2 separate regions of the Homo sapiens genome follow, and region 1 is linked to region 2. Evidence: promoter capture Hi-C in human tissues and cell types (Jung and others, 2019). All regions are on one chromosome and are shown on one strand. The core of a region is centred on a gene start or on the middle of the fragment in contact, and the rest is flanking DNA. Distances in the headings are between cores, read along the strand shown.

Region 1 (3,408 bases), core at 908-3,407, 92 kb before region 2:
GTTATATGGGACTGTCCACACGCATTACAAGATATATAGCATCCCTTCTTCCATAAGTGCCAGGAACCACCTTTGCCATCACTGTGAAAACCAAAAACAGAAATTGCCAAAAGACACAGACATCCCCCTTCAAAAGCACTGATTTAAGTAAATGACTAAAGAAATATGTGTATTTATATATTAATTAATTCAAATAAATGGTTAATCTGAGCCTACTCTATGCCAATGTCAATACAGGGGCTGGAGATACCATGGTGGACCAGAAGTCACTCCCTCTCTCATGGAGTTTATATTCTAATAACTATATTAAATCAAGAAACATTGGCTGGGCACGATGGCTCACACCTGTAATCCCAGCACTTTGGCAGGCTGAGGTGAGCGGATCACCTGAGGTCAGGAGTTCGAGACCAGCCTGGCCAACATGGTGAAACCCCATCTCTACTAAAAATACAAAATTAGCCGGGCATGATGGCACGTGCCTATAGTCCCAGCTACTTGGAAGGCTGAGGCAGGAGAATCGCTGGAACCCAGGAGGCAGCGGTTGCAGTAAGCTGAGATCATGCTACTGCACTCCAGCCTGGGTGACAGAGCGAGACTCCGTCTCAAAAAAAAAGGAACATTTATGGGAGTGCTCCTTCTATAGATTCCCTCCTCAGGAAAGTCTTCCTAGACCTCCTGTGGTCTAAAGTAGCCGTCAACATTGTTAATCACTATCACACCAACTTGTCTTCTTGTCTTCAAGCCTGTTATTCCTACCCAAAATTATGTTGTTCTATATCTGTTTACCTGTTTAGTATCTATCTTTTCCACATTGGTATATAAGCTTCATGAGAACAGGAATCTAGAATAGTGCTTAACATAGCACGTACTAAATGTTCAGTAACTGGCCAGGCAGGTGGCTCACACCTATACTCTCAGTGCTTTGGGAGGCTGAGGCAGGAGGATCGCTTGAGCCCAGACATTTGAAACCAGCCTGGGCAACAGAGTGAGACCCTATCTCTACAAAAAAAAATTTTCTTTTAATTGGCTGGGTGTGGGGACACATGCCTGTGGTCTCAGCTACTTGGGAGTCTGAGGTAGGAGGATCGCTTGAGGCCAGGAGTTGAAGGCTGTAGTGAGCTATGATCATGTCGCTGCACTCCAGGCTGAGCAACAGAGTGAGACTCTGTTACTAAAAAATAAATAGATAAATAAATATTCAATATATGTTTGTGTGTGTGTGTGTGTGTGTGTGTGTGTGTGTGTGTGTTTTCTTGTTTTTTTTGTGGGGGGGGTATGAAATCTTCCTCTGTCACCGAGGCTGGAGTGCAGTGGTGCAGTCTCGGCTCACTGCAACCTCTGCCTCCCAGGTTCAAGCAATTCTCATGCCTCAGCCTCCCAAGTAGCTGGGATTGCAGGCATGCGCCACCACACCTGGCTATTTTTTTTTTTGAAACCAACTCTCGCTCTATTGGCAGGCTGGAGTGCAGTACTGCGATCTAGGCTCACTGCAACTTCCGCCTCCCGGATTCAAGCAATTCTCCTGCCTCAGCCTCCCGAGTAGCTGGGACTACAGGTGCGTGCCACCACACCTGGCTAATTTTTGTATTTTTAGTAGAGATGGGGTTTCACCATGTTGGCCAGGATGGTCTCAATCTCTTGACCTTGTAATCTGCCCGCCTCGGCCTCCCAAAGTGCTGGGATTACAGGGGTGAGCCACCACGCCCAGCCTTTTTTTTTTTTTTTTTTTTTTTGAGACAGAGACTTGCTCTGTCACCCAGGCTGGAGTGCAGTGGCGTGATGTCGGCTCACTGCAACCGCCACCTCCCGGATTCAAGTGATTCTCCTGCCTCAGCCTCCCAAGTAGCTGGAATTACAGGCACCCACCACTATGCCCAGCTACTTTTTGTATTTTCAGTAGAGATGGGATTTCACCATGTTGCCCAGGCTGGTCTCCGACTGCTGACCTCAGGTGATGTATTCGTCTCGGCTTCCCCAAGTGCTGGGATTACAGGCGTGAGCCACACACCCAGCCTGTGTATTTTTTTTTTTGTTTTTTTGTTTTTTTTGAGACTGGGTCTCGCTCTGTTGCCCAGGCTGGAGTGCAGTGGCGCGATCTTGGCTCACTGCAAGCTCTGCCTCCCGGGTTCACGCCATTCTCCTGCCTCAGCCTCCCGAGTAGCTGGGACCACAGGTGCCCACTACCACGCCCGGCTAATTTTTTGTATTTTTTAGTAAAGATGGGGTTTCACTGTGCTAGCCAGGATGGTCTTGATCTCCTGACCTCGTGATCCGCCCACCTTGGCCTCCCAAAGTGCTGGGATTACAGGCATGAGCCACTGCATGTATTTTTTTTTAAGCAACAAAGTCTCACTGTGTTGCCCAGGCTGGAGTGCAGTGGCCTGATCATAGCTCACTGCAGCCTCAAACTCCTGACCTCAAGCGATCCACTTTGGCTTCTTAAAGTGTTGGGATTACAGGCATAAACCACTGCACCTGGCCTAAATATTTGTTAAATAAACAAATGAATACTAGGCACAGATGAGCAAAACCCACACAAGCTCTGACCTCCTGAAGCTTATTGTCTATTGGGGGAGCTTATTACCTATATTACTTTGGGCAAGCTAGTTCACATCTCTGACCCTCAAATTTCTCATCTGAACTATACTAATAAACCTTATTAACAATTAAAAGGGTTATTGTGAGAATAAATGAATACATATAAATACACATAAATTGTTTGGATTAATTTTTTTTTTGAGATGTCTCACTTTGTCGCCCAGGCTGGAATGCAGTGGTGCGATCTCAGCTCACTGCAACCTCTGCCTCTCAGGTTCAAGCGATTCTCCTGCCTCAGCCTCCCTAGTAGCTGGGACTACAGGCATACATCGCCACACTGGGCTAATTTTTTGTATTTTAGTAGAGACAGGTTTTCACAATGTTGCCCAGCCTGGTTGCGAACTCCTGAGCTCAGGCAATCCGCCCCCACCTCAGTCTCCCAAAGTGTTGGGATTACAGGTGTAAGCCACCATGTGCCCAGCCTTGGATGAATGTTAATAGCTATTACTATCAAGCTACATTTGTACTAAGAAAGGAGGCGGAGGCCGGGCGCGGTGGCTCACGCCTGTAATCCCAGCACTTTGGGAGGCTGAGGCAGGCAGATCACCTGAGGTCAGGAGTTCGATACCAGACTGACGGACATGGAGAAACCCCATCTCTACTAAAAAAACAAAATTAGCCAGGCGTGGTGGTGCATGCCTGTAATCCTAGCTACTCCAGAGGCTGAGGCTGGAGAATCACTTGAACCGGGGAGGTGGAGGTTGCGGTGAGCCGAGATTGCGCCATTGCACTCCAGCCTGGGCAACAGGAGTGAAACTCTGTCTCAAAAAAAAAAAAAAAAAGTAAAATAAAAAGAAAGGAGGGGAGTCC
Region 2 (3,251 bases), core at 575-3,074:
ATAAGTGGTTGGAAATGCTAAAAGGTTTTTTGTTTTGGTTTGTTTTAAACTAAAGGCCTTACAATCTCAAGACGCTCTTTGATGGAACAGATCACAGGGGAAGCCTTATTCTGAGCTTTGCTTTAAAAAAATCTGCAGCACAAGCTAGTGGCCTTCAAGCTGCTAAAATGTCCACCTAATACATTAGAGTGAGTTGGGTTTTATTACACATTTTTAATTGTTTAAAACATAGTCCGAAGAAGAAAGAAAATAAATTGGATTCACATGTGTGCAGACTCCCTGAAACATGGGGCTTGGGGAAGCTAGTTTGGAAATCCCTGACCCCCTTGAGTAAGGTCCAGACTCCTTAACATGATCCCCAAGGCCCTCTGTGGGCTCTTCCACATCCCTCCAGCTCTTCTTCCAACAATCCTGCATTCTTCATTCAGTACTTATTCAGGAACACAGTCCTGAGCTTCAGAGACATCTGCATGACTTTTGCCTGTCCTGTTTCCCTCTCCCTGGGAAACTCCACCTACTCAGGCTTTAAGATCAGGATACGTGCCACTTCTACAAAGCTTTCCCCAGTGTGATGTCACTACTCTACTCCCCCCCCAACTCCCCTAGGCTCTCATCTCTGGAGCCTCCATCATTGTGCAGTGAGCTCCTGAGGCAGGGACTCAGGTTATTTAATTCTTCAATCCCCACTCTTGAGCAGAGCTTGGAGGTGCTAATTGAATGATTGCTGATAGGGTGGACCTGTTGGGGAAGGGTTCTTGGAGGGAAGCAGCAAATTGCTTTAAGATCAAGCTGGAGCTCTTTGGAGGACCGCTGTGGGCCAACCTCTATTCTCGGTTTTCTCCTCAAGCTCTGAGATCTGGGAAGTTGGAGACAGCAAGGTCCAGGGGCAGACCAGGGCATCATCAACTTGTTTGATGGCAGAGAGGAGAGAGCTCCTCTGTGAGGTCCCAGACGGTTGACACCACCACAGGGTCGTGGGGATGTTAATGCCCACTGCAAGGGGAGCAGAACCCGAGCTGGGGGGCAGAGTCCAGCGCTGGGAGCCTGCGGCCAGGGGCGCCGATCGCCCCCCAGCGCAGAGTGTGGATCCCAGTGCCTGGAGAGAGCAGCTCCCTTTCCTTAGGACGCGGGGAGCGCACTGCCCCCAGCCCAGGGCCCAGGACCCAGAGCCAGACCCCAAACGCAGAGTCTCAGGTCCGGAGCCCGATGCCCAGATGGCGGAGACCGGAGCGCACAGCCAGGAACCGGGTTCCCAAAGTCTGGTTACCCGCGCCTGGGGCGCTTCTGGAAGCGCTGCGGACCAGCTTCGCCAACAAGTGCAATCCGCGCTCCCCGGCGGCCCGAGTGGGGAGGGGCTGGGGCTGCGGGCCTCTAGCTGGGCCCTGATGACAGCATGGGGGAGGGGGAGCCTGGCGTGGAACCCGAGTCCCGGTAAAAAAATACACCAGAGCAGAGCTCCCAAAATAAACCCGAGCCCGCGCCAGCTGCAGGGCGCATTCTGGGGCTGAGGAGCTGCGTCCCCTCCCAGAGGGGCGCCACGGGTCCCTTCCCAAGAGACTTATGACCCCTCCTCCGGGGTAACCCTTCCCCCGTCCCCCGCATACCCGTGCATTGCTTTTACCGATTTGGGTTTCTTCTTGGGCGCGAGGTTGTCGTAGAAAATCTTGGCTTCCTCCCAGACCGGGGCCGCAGCGGTCTCCGCTCCTGGCCCGGGCTCGCGGGGCTCCTGGGGCTCCCGGGGCTGCCCAGGTTCCATGCTCCGGCTCTGACCCGGCCCGGCCAGAGCAGGCGGCGGCGTAGACGCGGAGGTGGCTGGGGCTGGGCTGCAGGAGGGAGGCGAGTCCCGGCGAGGGAAGGGGGCGGGCAGCGGCGAGGAGGCTGTGCGTGTGAGCTGGGCTCCCCGCCCGCCGGGCGGGGGGAGGTCACACTGGCCCTCTCGGTCGCCCGTGTGTCGCTGCCGCTGCTGCTGCTACTGCTGTACGGTATGAGGGATAGCTGGGCTCTCCTTCCCCGACCGACCCACGCCAGCAGCCGGTTGGGTGGTGAGGGGGGCTCTCTGGCTCTCTGGGTTTGTGGGCTGCAGCGGATTGGGGATTGCGAAAATGATGTTCTTCGCAGGCGCTGCAGGGCGCGGAGACAGGAGAGGCCTGACAACTTTTTTTTTCCCCCAGGATAGTGATCCCCAAAGGACAAAATGAAAAGCTAGCCGCTCCCCTCCCAAAAGCTAGCTGCCCATCTTTCCTTTAGGAGCTAGGACCCTGGGATCCTGACGATGTCCCCTTCCCTCCGAGGCCAGTCCATCCGGCAGACGGGCAGGAGGTGATGCATGGATGGCTCCTCTCACTAGCAGAAGCCTGCTCCCAGCGGGAGCTCAGTGAAGGGCCCAACCCGGCAGCTCCTCCACACCACCTAGGAGGGGCCCTTGAAGTCCATGTTGAGACCAGGCTCGGGTGGTCTCAGGTCGAGACCTTGGCCTGGGGTGGGGACCCAGGCCAGAGAGACTCCCAGGGACTCTGAACCCGAATTCTTGCTGGCCCTTTGGTGGTCAGCAGAGGGCGCGCATTCCTAGGCCCCCACCTGCCCAGCTTGGGGTGATTTGTTATAGGCCATGAAGGGGCTGGATAGAGGGAGGGCAGAAGAGGGGCCTCGGAACTACCATCCTGGAATTCCAGGGTGTTGTCCCTCTTGATGCAGAGCTCTGTACTAGTCTCAGGGTGCAGACACAAATGTCACCCATCCCAAGGTACAGGCCAGGAAGCAGACAGCCTCTCTCAGAGGTGTGCATGGGTGGGTGGGAGAAGCAGGAGAAAACACTGGCTTAGCTAGGAGGGCCTCTGACTGGGGAGGTGAGGGGGCTACAGAATGGAGTGATCCCCTCAGCCTCCACCAGGTCCTGGGAGGAATAAACCAACCCTTGTGTGGGAGGAAGGGAAAAATCATAATAAAATGTTAGGATTGGGGGAAGTGTGTTTAGACTTACTTCTAGAAGATTGTTTCCAGAGATGGCCCAAAAACCTCTTCCATCCTGCCTGTCCTTTGGAAATGTGACTTTGACATTCCTCCCATTCAGAGGTGGAGTCCAGTCTGAGCTGGCCCTGTGACTTGCTTTGACCAATTGAATGGAGTAGAAGTGGTGCTCTGTGGTTTCCAAGCTTACGTCTTAAGAGGCCTTGCAGATTCCATTTTTGCCCTCTTGGGAGCCAGCTACTATGTAAATAAGTCTGGACTATCCTGCTGGAAAGGCCACGTAG

The links. Contacts are between HindIII fragments. The study calls those that stand out against the background at their distance.
Region 1: a fragment that was not itself captured here is called in contact with the fragment with the promoter of NT5C1A in region 2 in 4 of the 25 tissues and cell types used here (IMR-90 fibroblasts, lymphoblastoid cells, mesenchymal stem cells and 1 more).

What each region holds. Positions count from the first base shown.
Region 1 is chr1:39,578,148-39,581,555 of GRCh38, forward strand. No RefSeq gene overlaps it. Among named protein-coding and RNA genes, the nearest start is that of PABPC4, 3.1 kb to the left of the region's middle. The HindIII fragment of the contact is 4,000 bases long and covers 158-3,408 here.
Region 2 is chr1:39,670,283-39,673,533 of GRCh38, forward strand. It overlaps NT5C1A (5'-nucleotidase, cytosolic IA), which reads right to left and starts at 1,825. Exons shown (of 6, transcript NM_032526.3): 1 at 1,622-1,825. The coding sequence starts at 1,756. RefSeq lists a silencer at 1,608-2,017. The HindIII fragment of the contact is 3,595 bases long and covers 244-3,251 here.